3 separate regions of the Homo sapiens genome follow, and all the other regions are linked to region 1. Evidence: promoter capture Hi-C in human tissues and cell types (Jung and others, 2019). All regions are on one chromosome and are shown on one strand. The core of a region is centred on a gene start or on the middle of the fragment in contact, and the rest is flanking DNA. Distances in the headings are between cores, read along the strand shown. Region 1 holds the start of MCC (MCC regulator of Wnt signaling pathway). Region 2 overlaps MCC (MCC regulator of Wnt signaling pathway). Region 3 holds the start of LOC124901045 (a long non-coding RNA gene).

Region 1 (4,454 bases), core at 700-3,199:
CGCTGCTAGTTTTCTGTATGCACTCTTGCCCGTGTGAAATTAAACTTTTTTGCATCCATGCGGGGAGCGGTGGCTCAGGCCTGTAATCTCAGCGCTTCCTAAGGCCGAGGCGGGCGGATCACTTAGGGTCAGGAATTCGAGACCAGCCTGGCCAAATTGTGAAGCCCCTTCTCTACTAAAAATACGAAAATTAGCCGGGAGTGGTAGTGGGCACCTGTAATCCCAGCTACTCGGGAAGCTGAGGCAGGAGAATCTCTTGAACCAGGAGGCGGAGGTTGCAGTGAGCCAAGACCACGCCACTGTACTCCAGCCTGGGTGATAGAGCGAGATTCTGTCTAAAAAAAAAAAAAATTGTATCCAAAGTTGGAGTTTGCCTTTATTATTGCAAATGAGATAATAACCTTTCAAGTAGGAAAACAACAAAAAGGAAAACTATATAATGAAATTTCTTTTACTCCCAGAACCAAAATAACGAGACTTCCAGATAGAAATTTGCATGGAGTCAATCAGAATTACATATTATTTTCATTTCCGAACAGAATTACTCCATCAAGTTTTCTGATATCTTCCTAATGTTTCTCAGTAAAACTTTAGCAAAGTAATAAAAATTCACCTAAGAATGATCAAAATTGCGTTGAGTCCCAAATAAATAATTTTTTTTATTTTAAGGGAAAAATTCCGCACTTTGCTTTCTTTTTTTTTTTTTTAGGTAGGCAGGGACAATCAGGAAGCAGCCCCGGATTTTCAGAAACGATCTTTAGCATCACCAAGACATAGACTAAAGAAACATGTAATGCACAACTTAGGCTGCTCCTTCATCCAAGGCAATTCAAATTTCCACGGATACCAAGTCTTCAATGGCCGGTGTCAACCATTCAATAGAAGCATACCAGAAAATGTTGCGATTGCCTTCTTCACCACAAGAGTCTAAGTGACACAAATTTGGGCAGAAGTAATTATTTGGCCAAGCCGGGAGGCAGGAAGCTTAAATACCGCCTCTGTAGGAAGTGCGGGGGATCCGAAGCAAACACCCCAAAGTTTGTTTGTGAGTGGAGGCGCGGAGGCGCCCGGAGCCACGCCGAAGCTCACCTGGTCAGCGCACAGAGCCGGGTAGGAGTCGGGTCTAGCCCTAGTTTGCTCCTGAGCGCTTCGTTCCTCTCAGGCTACTGCGTTTAAATCAATACTGGGTGGCAAACGATACCCATTCTTTGGGCTCTGAAGTTTGGAATTCATGGGTTCTGCGGCACAAGAAAGTTTCTTCACAGGTTATTTCCCTGTCCGAGGCTGTCGCTTAGCTCATCTCCTCCCGGTGCGGCCCTGGGGTGTCCACCAAGCCGCCGGGCAGATCGCTGCCCCGTGCTGCGGCATCTTGATGCCCAGGACCCCGAGGCTGTGGGGCAGCCCCTCCTACCTGGGACAAGCGGCCAGAACTCCTTTTCCCACAGGGAAGAACACTCCAAGCCCCCGGAAGAGTGCGCATCCTAAGGAGATGTCTCCCAACGCCTAGACAAAGACAGCGCTGGGAAAAGTTGGACCAACTGGCACCCCCGCAAGGCGAACAGAGCAGTCCCCTCGGCCTTCGTGGCCGAGCCGGCTACGCGCTCTCGGAGTCGCGGCCAACTTTTCCCGCGAGCTTCTGAGCAACTTGCCGCAAGTTGGGGCGAGGGGGCAGAGCAGGGGTCAAGGGCGCGCGGAGGGACTGATCTCGCTCCTGTCGGTTTCCTCGTACCTCCCCGCGTACCTGCTGATGTATCCGTCCCCGTCGCCGTCGCACGTCTGGAAGAGGCGCCGCATCCTCTCCTCCTCGCCGGTGCTGGACGTGTCGCTGCTGCTGCTGCTGCTGCCGCTGCCGCCGCCGCCGCCGCCGCTGCTGGAGCTCCCCGCAGCCGCTGCCGCCGCGGCCGCCATCATGCGCCCGCTCCCTACTTGGGAGGAGGAGTACGCGCGACCGCAGCTGGAATCCGCGCGGCGCGCAAGCTGCCTGCAGCCCCGAACTTGCCTGACAACGGAGCATGCCCAGTGGCCGCCGGGGCGCTCCGGGCGAGGGATTCCACCTCTCCGGGTTTTGCCCGGACTGGGAAGATGGGCGCTCTGGAATCGCCCGAGGAGGCACCTCAGGGAAGAGGGAGGAGGGGAAGGTGGCTGGAAGAGTCAGGGAGCTAAGGGTGGCAACGGGAACACAAGAGGAGGCAGAATACACTGGAAGCCCCCGGGAAGGGTGTCAGCATTGTGCATCCGGCAACGACGCGGGCCCGGGACACTTGGGGACGCTTCAGGCAGAGGGCAGGTGTACTCCCGGCAGACCTTCTCCGACCGCCCGGAGTCATGGCTTCCTTTTCCAGAGAAGCTATATAAACACTCTCCTTCTGCAAACTCAAAACGGTGCTTGTAATCCCACTCTCCAGGATTGTTCCGGGTTCTGTACCCATAGCCACCAATGAGAACCGGAATGACTGGCCTTTTTATGAAATTTTGACACCTGTCAAGAAACCTGGCCCTCGCAGCCCTCATCTTGGCTCCCACTCTGTACTGGGAAGAGTCTGCACGCTGTGTGGCATTGTGTACGTTGGGTCAATTTCTGGAAACGGCTCACTCTACTGGCCAGGCATCACTAGAATTTCCCCCAACAGCTTTAATAATGCCAAGAGCGAACATAATAGATGGTCTCATTTGATCCACACTACAGACCTGGAAGATGCCTCTTTTATTATCAATCCTACGACTTAGGAAGTATTAATAGATAAGTACCTCATAGAGTTATCTTACATATAAAAGGAGAGCAGACATAATGCAGTTAGGACAATGTCTGACACCTAGTAAGTGCTCAACAACTGTTAGCTCTCATTGTTCCCAATTTACAGGTAAGAAAACTGAGGTACCAAGACCTGCTCAAGGTTCCAGGTTTAGTAAGTGTTAGGGCAGAGGCAAGCCCGGGCAGCCTAACTCCAGAGCAGGAGCCTTTAAACACTGCACTATTCCCCCATAGCCAAAGGGAAACCACAGTGAAGCAATTTGTGGTTTCGTGAATGACTCATTATTCTGTCCTGGATTTTCTGCCAGAGAGGCGTGTGAAGTTCTCTGGTGGTTTTAAAATATGTCCACAGATTCTTTGGTGCACCCCTCATCAAGAGGTGGAGTCTGTTGCTTCCCCTAAACCTGGATTGGACTTGTGACTGCCTTGACTTCTGAGACTAGGTTAGAAAAGGCAATGCAGATTGCACTTGGCTCTCTCCCTTGGGACACTTACCTTTGAAGCCTTGAGCTGCCTGAAAAGAAGTTTGGCTACCCTGAAGCTGGAGAAACCATGCAGAAAGACCATGTAAAGAAAAAAGGAGATGACCAAAGAGCTACAGCTGTTCTAGCCCTGGATCTTAGAATCTTCCCAGACTAGGTGCCAGACATGAGTGAGAGATGATGCTAGCTCTAGATGCTGCAACTGCATTGGAGACCCTGAGCAAAACTGGCTAACCAACCCCCAGAGCTGTGAAGATAATAATTAAAAATTGTTGTTTTAAGCCATTAAGTTTTGAGGTGATTTGTTATGCAGCAATATATAACTGGAACAAGTCCATATGTCTTGGGAATGTCTGCTAGGTCAGAAGGAAGGAATCTCTGCTCTCTTTCTCCTCCTCTCCACCCCATCTACCTATTCCTACTTTACTTCTTTATTATTCTCTAAGTTCCCAGTATTTCAGGGCACTAAAATCATAGATTCATGAGTTAATGAGTTAATGGGTTATCATGGGAGTGGGACTAGTGACTTTATAAGAAGAGAAGGAGAGACCTGAGTTAGCAGGCTCAGCCCCCTTGCCATGTGATGCCCTGCACTGTTTTGGGACTCTGCACAGAGTCCCCACCAGCAGGGTGGCCCATTGACCTTGGACTTTTCATTCTCCAGAACTGTAAGAAATAAATTCATTTCTTTATAAATCACCCTAGTTTCAGGTAGTCTGTTCTAAGCAACAGAAAATTGACAAGACCAGAAATTAGTACCGGGAGTGGGGTGTTAACGAAAACGAATACCTGAAAATGGAGAAGCAGCTTTGAAACTGGATAATGAGCAGAGGCTACAAGAATGAAGCAGCAGTCTAGAAAAAGCCTAGGTTCTAGTGAGGGCTGAGAAGACAGGAAGAACAGGGAAAGTTTGGAACTCCTTAGAAATTGGTTAAATGGTCATAATCAGAATGCTGATGGAACTATGGACAGTAAAGGCCATTCTGACAAGGTCTCAGATGGAACTGAGGAACAAGGTACAAGAAAATGGAGTAAAGACCATCCTTGTTATAAATTGGCAAAGAACTTAGCTGAACTGTTCTATGCCTGAGGGCTTTCTGGAAGGCTGAACTTGAGAGAGAGAAACTGGGGTATCTGGCCAAAGAAATATCTAAGCAGTAAAGCATTCAGGCTGCAGCATGGCTACTTTTAACCACTTACATCAAGCTGTGAGAGGGGGA
Region 2 (4,454 bases), core at 1,358-3,857, 250 kb before region 1:
TTCTGGGTTCTTCAAAAGTCTGACTTCAATGCACTTGAGAAATGAATCAAAGAGGAATTTTTCTCTAAATAAAAACACTAGCCTCTTTGTTAACTTAGATTCCAATTATCAAACACACATACATTCCATATTACTTCCCCAAAGGAATCTCCAAATAATTTTTATATCTGATTAGACTATGTTAGTGCATTAGTTTCTTCATTCCACTAAACAAGAGAGAGGTAAATAATCCTCAGAGGAAAACATCAATTTAAGTGGAATTTAGCACTTGGGAATGAAAAAGATCCAACTCTATCATGCATACAGGAACTGAGTGGGGAAACACAAATAAAATGGTGAATGTGGATTTAACAATCCTGCCATTTGAGGGCACAGTGCTTCGCAACTCTCTCCTGGCCCATGTCCCTTTATGATAAAACTACACAAGGAGATTCAGTACTTGGAAAGTATTCCTTCACTTAAGGTGTAAAGAAGATTTCTGGACTGGGCACCATTTCTCCTGCAGAGAAACCATTTCGGTTAAGAGATTTTCCCACTTTACATTCCTCCAGGAAACAAATCATTTTGAGGGGGTATTCTTTCATTTCAATGTTATGCCCAGTTCTGCAGCTTCAACTCTGCAGAACACAAAGAACTGGAGTCTGAACATATATCTATTCTGCCTCCTTGACCTGATTTTGGTAGCCGTTAAAATTCGGTCAGAGTCTGCTAAAGTTTTAGAGAGTTCAGAAGATTGAGGCAGCTTTGGTGATGTTCCCGCTACCATTTCCTTGGTCTTCTAACCTAGGTAGGTCGGATTTCCTCATGTTCAGGTTGGGCCCCTTGGGTGCCTTTGAAGAGTAAATTCTATGACAGGTAAAAATGCTGGCTGCAAGATCCTCTTTTAAAGGCTCTCTGATCTGCAGAATGAGTCACACTCCCATGACAATATGAGATGGCAGCTGAGAGAGGTGAGGTATGCTTGAGCCTAGGTTTGAAATAATATTGCTGCATTTGCAGCATAAACCAATATGCCTGAGCCTAGGTTTGAAATAATATTGCTGCATTTGCTGCATAAACCAAGAAGGACACCAATAATCTGGAATGCAAATTTCAATAAATTCTAGAAATGCTGGTGGCAGAAAAGCTTTCCGGGACCAGAGAAAGGCAGTATCGAGGATAAGAGCATGGGCTCTTGGAACCACACTCCCATGACTAAATCTCAGTTGTATTACTTACTAGCTATTTGACTTTGGACATGTTACTTAAATTTTTTCTGTGTCTCCACTTCCTCATCTGAAAAATGGGGATAATTATGTCTAGGGTTGTTGAGGTAGTTGAAGATTCATTAGATTATGAATTATAAAATACTTACAATGAGTCCAGGCATATAATTGAGTGCCATTATAATGTTTATCTTCACTGTTAGCGTTGCCAACGATTAATATTACAATTTCCAAGTGAGTCACTCTGAGGTACAATAAATGATTAAGCTGAACACCTAGGTTAGGGCAGAGCAGATAAAAAGCCAGAAGAATACACAGAGAGGAGAACTAAGGCCCCTCCCTCCCTCCTCAAACTGATCGGATGTTTGTTCAGGGGGACGGGGGACAGGCGGGGTGGCTACACTTGGTGGGTGGCTTCGCTGGGAGGCTGGACCAGGAGAGCATTCCCACTCTTTTCTTCCTCGACTGAATTTATCATGAAGTCTTAAAAACATAAAGCTGCAATGAATATACTGAAAGAAATTAGACTCTGAATGTCAGTTGTTTTCACTCTGTCAAGTTGAAAAAATTGAGAAGGAAAGTGGCAACGGGGCTCCTGATCCACTGGAAGTCCTTGGGGAATTCATTAAATACTTGCTAATTGACTGAACTTGCCTGTTCAAAGGAAACTTGGAAATGTATACGCCTTCAGGGAATAAATCATGGCGTATACAATCCACTAAGTATCTTGCTTCTCAGGAGTAACCACAGAATATGGTTTATATGTAAGTTAAATATTTAATTGGTATAAATATACTACTGAGATCACTGAGGCAAAAATGTGAACATTTTACTTCTACTTTTTAATGACTACATTTTGGGCCATTATGCTTAAAGCTAATACCACAAAAATTTCTGAATTTTGTAGCACAAAAATATTTTAATATGACTTGGTTATTTTCATTGATATGCGGAAATAAATGTGTTCCATGAAAAGCAAATACCAACTGCTTCCACTACCCATTTAATGTTCAAAAATATTTTTATGGAAAAACCTAAAAACAAAATGGCAAGCCAGGAGAATTGGTGCCTCTGGGATTAGAAGGTCAGAAAATTACCTAATCTTATTTCTGCCAAGAAGGGTTACTTGCATTAAAATGACAGCAGTCACCAAGGCACTGGGAGGAAACACGGGCCAGGGGAAAACGGGCCGGCTGTATTTTAGAGAAATCACAAGCACACACATGGGCTACAAGAGAAATTATATTTGAAAAATAAAATGGAACTTCCTCATTGATTAGTCTCAGCTCCGCGATAATTTCTGACTGATTCAGAAACTTGCAAGGCTCTCATAGAACCCAGACAAGAGCTTTGATGTTGGCTGGATGCGACACACTGCCGGTGATTTAATTTTGTCTAAGGCAAGAACACTGAAAAACAATCAGAGTCATCTCATGCCTGAAGTATCAGAGTTGTATTATTTTCCAGTGACAGCAGAAAAATAATTTCCATGAATGAGTATGGTTTGGGGAGCTGGGGAGGGAAAAAACTGAAGTAGGGAAACAGAGGTGGAGGAAGCATGCTTTGTGGATTTTCTCTCCTTTACCAAAGAGAGCTCAAAAATTTCTGGCTGCAAGACTGATATCAGACAGACATCAAGAATGCAGCTATATCTGGCTTCCCTCATGGCATAAGTAGCACTCACAGCAAAATGCATGCAACCAGTCACTTAAACTCAGATGCAAAAATTACCAGGCTTTGGGGGTAGAGGCACCACTGTTGAAATAGACATTAAATCAAACTGATGAGCTTCTGGCACTTTTCAGAAAGGCAGTAATATTTGGAAACATTTTTTCCTGTTTTTTTTAATCAAAGCAATTATTTCACTAAAAACTGAGAAATGAAGGGAAAATGCCACCTAAAAAAATCACTATCCACAACTAATGGTAGAATTTTGTATATTTCATTCCAGTCTTTTCTCCTATTTCCTATTTGGCAATTATACATGACAGATGACCCATAAGAAAGCAAGTCCTGCATTTCACTCTCTCTCCTAAAAAGACTCTTCAATAAAGCTTTTAAAACAAACTAACAAAAAAATCCTGGTGCTTTACGACAGACCCAATTTTGCTTACAGATTTTCCCCAAATTTAAGATTTTGTTATTGGTTGTATACAATTCAAAAATGAAGGCTGTTAATGCTGAGTTCATAGTATAAACAAAGAGACCAGAGATTAGAAAAAAATGTCAGCACATTTGATTAGTTTCATCCTCCCACATGCCAATGGGTATGGGATGTGGAAAGACTGCAATTCCATTCTTACCATGGTTTGCCTCGACTATCAAGGTGATCCAATATGGCAAGAGAAAAAGACTAATGGTCTCAAATTTTTAACAAAATGGCATTTCCAATTTTTGTAAAATGGTTGTTTAGAACTTAAAACATATTTTCCAAAGAAGCAGTTACAAGAAGAGGTACATATTTCCAACTTACTCTGCAACATCTATTTAATTCCTGGGTTTAAACAGAGGTAACAAAGGTTTTAAAAGATGAGGTAACTATGACAATTCATCGAAATGTGAAGAGAATATTCATGCATATGTTTTTTTTCAATCTTATCCTTTAACGTCTAGTTTATTTCTGCTTTTTAGGATATATAACATTAATACAGTACTAAAGGTATTTAATTTGTAAATATACATAAATTGGACATACAAGCTGTTAAAGCTCTAACTTTATTTAAACAGAGAAGTTTGGACACCATTAGTTGAAACAATAACATCAGCATTACTTTCATTTGCTGCCATACTGATGACAAGATCTCTTTAGAAAAACATGTTCCATGTTTCAGTGGGGACGGCCCCAGGAATAAATCTGCCATGGAAACATCCAGTATACTGTGGGTCTCTTTCGGAGATAAATTGGGTAATAGGAGTTTGGAATCCCAAAAGGGCAGCTCTGAGAGGAAGCAGGGTACTCCCTTTCTCCAGGGGGTCCTCGCATGCAGCAGAGTTCTCAAACACCTTTAGTTTAGGCCCCTCTTAACCTGGTAAGTGGAGCAGACCTTGTCCTCATACATTTTTAAAGGGTTTCAGTCACACACTTGCTGAAATCCATTTGTGGATTTCTGGGACCATGATGCCAGAGAAGAGGATGTGGGCTCAGCCATAACTAAGAAGGAACTCCGTAGTAATGTCCAGATGGGGAAGAGGACTCGAGTTCTGAGACTTCAAAGTGCTGCCCATTTGTGGCAAACACTTCATTGAGAA
Region 3 (4,454 bases), core at 962-3,461, 190 kb before region 1:
AAAAAAATTAGCTGGGCGTAGTGGCACATGCCTGTAATTCCAGCTACTCGGGAGACTGAGGTAAGAGAATCGCTTGAACCCGGGAGGCAGAGGTTGCAGTGAGCCGAGATTGCACCACTGCACTCCAGCATGGGTGACAGAGTGAGACTCTGTCTCCAAAAAATAAATAAATAAAAATTTAAAAAATTAGTGCAGAAAGTAAAAATAACTACCATTCAACCTGCAGGATAACTAACATTGATTGGAAAGAGGTACAACTAAATCATGGTACCTAAAACTGGCTCGAAAGCAAGCAAAAAATGAATGAGCAGACACCGATGAGAAGAAAAGAACATCTGGTAAAGGATATAGCTGAGGAAGGAACTTATTTCCTTAGGAACAATATTATGTCATATACTGCTCAAATAGTTTTCCAGCCAATGCAGGGACTACAAAGCACTCTCAACTCTTTCATTTGCCTACAAGCTTTATAGGGATTACTTAGGGAGTGGATACAACTAGGCAAAAAAAATGGGTAATTTTATGTGGCACCTGAGTGTCACATTCTCTGCTCACCCAATGTGCTCAAGGACGTGCCAATAGGACTAAAGTCAATTCACATCTCTTCCTTCACTCAGGGTTCTAGCCCCCCCTTCTCCTAAGTCTGCGATTCATTTAAACAAAGGTTACTGGACAGCACTCTGCTGCATAGAAACATCGTGAAGGGCCTGGCAAAGAGTCTCTGCAAAAGAAATGCCTTCAGTTTTGGGGTTTTCAATGACCTTAGAAGATCACCAAAGGCTTCTCCTGAAACAGGGTTAGTGATGGAGCAGGGCCCTGGGTTCTAGTTCAGATTTGAGACCGTTAATTATAAAATTGGCAAAAGTCACTTAAATCCTCATGCCTCCTCCCTCACCTCCCATTTTTAAGTTCTCACTCTCAGCATTTCTTGAGTCTTCTACATCACAGGGGCAACAGCCGTTAAGGATTAGCAAATGCTCTACTTCATTCAGCCAGCACCTCAAAATGCTATTTCAAACCGGAGCAGGAACAGCACAGCAGCAGCATGACACTTAAGAGCACCAGGCAGGGCCCAATAGCATTCACCAGCCCGACGGCAGACCTCCTAGGTTTCCCCCAACCCCATTTAATCCCCCCTCTTTCCCATCACCAGGTGTTCCCTCACACACACACACCCCCGCAGGGGCTCCATCCCTGCATTTTTCCCTTCACCATTGGTAGTCTGACATCACCATTATCTGCCTTCCGGCTGCTTTTACACTGTTTTCCTTTTCTTCCTCTTTCCTCTCTTCAGCCATACTCAAGAAACACGGACTACTTATGCTACTTTTGCCCCCATAAATGGCTCAGTGATGGAACCAAGAGGGAAACCCACAGACACCAAGCCTCTAGCTGTAGACACTAAGCACACAGACTTCCTCTTCTTTTCAGCACCCAGTTCTACGGGCTTCTCATCACTTTTCAGGTATTCAAAGCTTTGAGGGATGTGCCCGAAGCATCCCTAAAATCATGAAAAAAGATGGCTTTGGGCATCTTACCGCTCACACATTTGCATAGTGTTTGATGTAGCTTTAATTTCAAAGCTGGTCTCAAACACTCAAGTGGATAGGTTACAGTGGGAGCCCAGGAATTGCAAATGCGCTTGCCTCAAAGACTCAGGAGTCCAGATCCGGGCAGGAAATAAAGTTCTAAAGCGGCTTTGAAGTGCTTTCTCCCCAGACCCCTCCCCAGCGCGGGTCATTCATCTCAGCCTAGGGAAGAGACCACCTTGCCTGAACGTAGCCAAACGCATCGCACGTGGGAGCCAAGTGGGAGATGAAATAATCCAATGCGTCCCCCTCACCACCACCACCCCCACCAAATTAGTTACCGTCGGCTTAAACTCATCGGGAATGTCCGTGTATTTTACCGATCAGGGAAATAAAAGGGTGTATATAAATTAGTGGAAGCGGGTGGGAAGGAACAAGGGATGCAGACTGTCGTGAGTAAAACGCCTCGCGGCTTGGTGAGAGGTTGTTTCTTTTTTAAGCCACTCATTTCAGACTGAAATATCAAGCCAGTTCAGGTCATTTCCTGAGTAGCACTACAAGTTAAAACAAGATCCAGAAAATCTACTAATCTTCAATTGCGCTGCCTCCAGACTGGGAGCACAGGGGGATAGGGTGTAGGGCTGTGGGGAGGTCGAGGGGAGGGGGATTTGTGGAAAAGCAAACGCCCGAGAAACCCTAGCTCCCGACCTCAGCTGTTTCTTACCTCACTCAGCTCGGCCGAGGAGTCGTTTCCATATTTCATGGCAACTCCGGAATTCATGATGCACTTTTCAGAGCTGGGCTCTCAGTCCCCCAGGTCTCGGAGCTTAAGAGTTGGACTTCACAGGCTCAATATCCACTGCTTGGTCCCTTCTGCCACATTTTAGTCTAGACAGCCATTTTCACCCAGGACAGTTGCGAAGCGCAAACGGAGGATGCAGGCACTCTTAAAAAGAGCAGCCGTGGCTCGCGTTTCACGGACGAGCCATTGCTGCAGGAGGCTCGGTGGCGCGGCGCGCTCGCAGCTGCGGCAGCGGCGGAGCCCGCGCGGGGACCCTCCCGCGCGCACCCAGCGCCCCGTTCCGGGGCAGTGCCACCCTGGGCGCCGCCTCGCCACTCCTACGGTGCCTCGCCGCCCCCCATTACCAGGATGGAGGGCACTTCCCAGCACGAGCCGACACCCTAGAGGGCACCGGCGAGCTCCCGAAAAAACTAGGGCGGTGGGGCGAGGAAGATCCGCGCCTCGGATTCCAGAGAAGGAAAGAAAGCTAGAGGGAGCCGGAGCGGAGCTGCACTTCACGCCGAAGTTTCCCCTTCGAATCGTCTGGAGTTGTAAGTGGTTTCTGATTGAACACAGCTGTCTAGCTGCTGGCCACGGGGTGCGCGGAGGAGGCGGGGCTAGAGGGAGAAAAGGGTGGGGGCGAGTAGCCTGGAGGCCGAGCAGAGGAGACCGTGCTGGGAGAGCAGAGCAGGCATCCTTCCAGTTCTCTGCAATAGTAATTAAGGACCCGAGTCCAGGAGGGGGAGTAGAAACAGGAAAAGCCACCTGAATAATCGTGCAGGAAATTAAAAAAAAAAAAAGAAAAGAAAAAGAAAAAAAACTTCCCTCATAGGAGCCGCTTTCCATGATTTAATAAGGTCAAGACAAACCTAAACACTGTACATCAGACAGCACGGTGCACTTCTCACGGAACATTAAGATTTTACAAGGGTGCAGGGCAGTCATTTTCCCTAATCAGTCTAAAGTCAACGCTACGGGTGTAAATTCAATGTCAAACTCCCTCTGTCTGTCACTGGGGCAGAGTACATTTTCTGCATGTCCATAATGAAGATAGAGGCCCCATCCCTTGAAAGATGTCGATAGGCTCCCCAACCCCCATCCCTTGAAAGATGTCAGATAGGCTCCTCAACCCCCATCCCTTGAAAGATGTCAGATAGGCTCCCCAACCCCCAGACCTTCCTTAATTGAGCGGAGGTAGAGTTGTATTTATGGAGTGTGGAGTATGATTCAGAAAAGATTCAAGGGGCTGTTATACCCAGTACACCCCTGGGATCTGAGCTCCCCTTCAACTTTGAGTTCCCGAGGTAAAACATCCTGTGTCTATTGGGAGAGAGATGAGATGGGGGAAGAGGGGAACTAGGATTTTTCTCTCCACAAACTTAAAGTTCCAATGAATTTGAGATGCACAGAAAAATGTTCTGATGCTTCAAAACAGTAGGTCTGCGAGATTGCTTAAGAGACCTCATCAGTCTCTTTCTACACAATGGGGACAAAATGTCTCCATCCCCAATAACAGAACTTGGCATATCCTGAAGCCTTCTGTGAAAAAGCCATTGTATTGTCAACTTCCATGGTCTTTTTAAAAAATCATGTTTATTTTGCTCTTTAAGAAGGGGCAGAGTGCAACTATTTGCATATAACGTTTTACCCATCCCCCTTCTTGTTGAGTTCATTCATTGCCTGATGGAGGTGCTGCTGGGATTAGGAAGAGTTTGCTGCTCTTTCTAGAGCACTGGGTCCCAAGTCCTTGGGCACTGCCAAACTAGAGCACATTCTGCATGGGGAGGAGATGGGAAGCTACATTATTTAATTTATCTTTTCATTGAAATCTGTTGAAAACTGCATGTTTGAAGCTGGAAATGGTGGTATATACATAACTATGAAGAAGATTCAAGCACTGCCCCTGCCCTGAAGGTGTTTATAGACTTGTAAAACATGAACAGAAATGACAATTCTAGATAGAAAATGATACTTGCCATAAACACAGTACAAATGAGGAGCGACTGCAGTTCAGAGGAGGGAAATACGATTTTGGCTGGACAGGGTCTGGAGAGAAGATTCTGTGAAGGAATCTTAGAAGAGGCAGCATGTGAGTTGACCTGTGAAGAATGGCTGAGCCCAGCAGAGATGGGAAGTAAGGGGAA

The links. Contacts are between HindIII fragments. The study calls those that stand out against the background at their distance.
Region 2: a contact is called between a fragment that was not itself captured here and the fragment with the promoter of MCC in region 1, in 2 of the 25 tissues and cell types used here (IMR-90 fibroblasts and aorta).
Region 3: a fragment that was not itself captured here is called in contact with the fragment with the promoter of MCC in region 1 in 1 of the 25 tissues and cell types used here (hippocampus).

Annotation. Positions count from the first base shown.
Region 1 is chr5:113,486,504-113,490,957 of GRCh38, forward strand. MCC (MCC regulator of Wnt signaling pathway) reads right to left here and starts at 1,950. Exons shown (of 19, transcript NM_001085377.2): 1 at 1,742-1,950. The coding sequence starts at 1,911. RefSeq lists an enhancer at 1,849-2,143. The HindIII fragment of the contact is 5,374 bases long and covers 1-4,454 here.
Region 2 is chr5:113,235,233-113,239,686 of GRCh38, forward strand. The region is part of intron 3 of MCC (MCC regulator of Wnt signaling pathway); the gene reads right to left. Among named protein-coding and RNA genes, the nearest start is that of TSSK1B, 200 kb to the right of the region's middle. RefSeq lists an enhancer at 163-1,137. The HindIII fragment of the contact is 6,149 bases long and covers 1-4,454 here.
Region 3 is chr5:113,292,076-113,296,529 of GRCh38, forward strand. The region is part of intron 3 of MCC (MCC regulator of Wnt signaling pathway); the gene reads right to left. It overlaps LOC124901045 (a long non-coding RNA gene), which reads left to right and starts at 2,785. Exons shown (of 3, transcript XR_007058904.1): 1 at 2,785-2,861. RefSeq lists a silencer at 2,562-2,621. The HindIII fragment of the contact is 4,704 bases long and covers 1-4,454 here.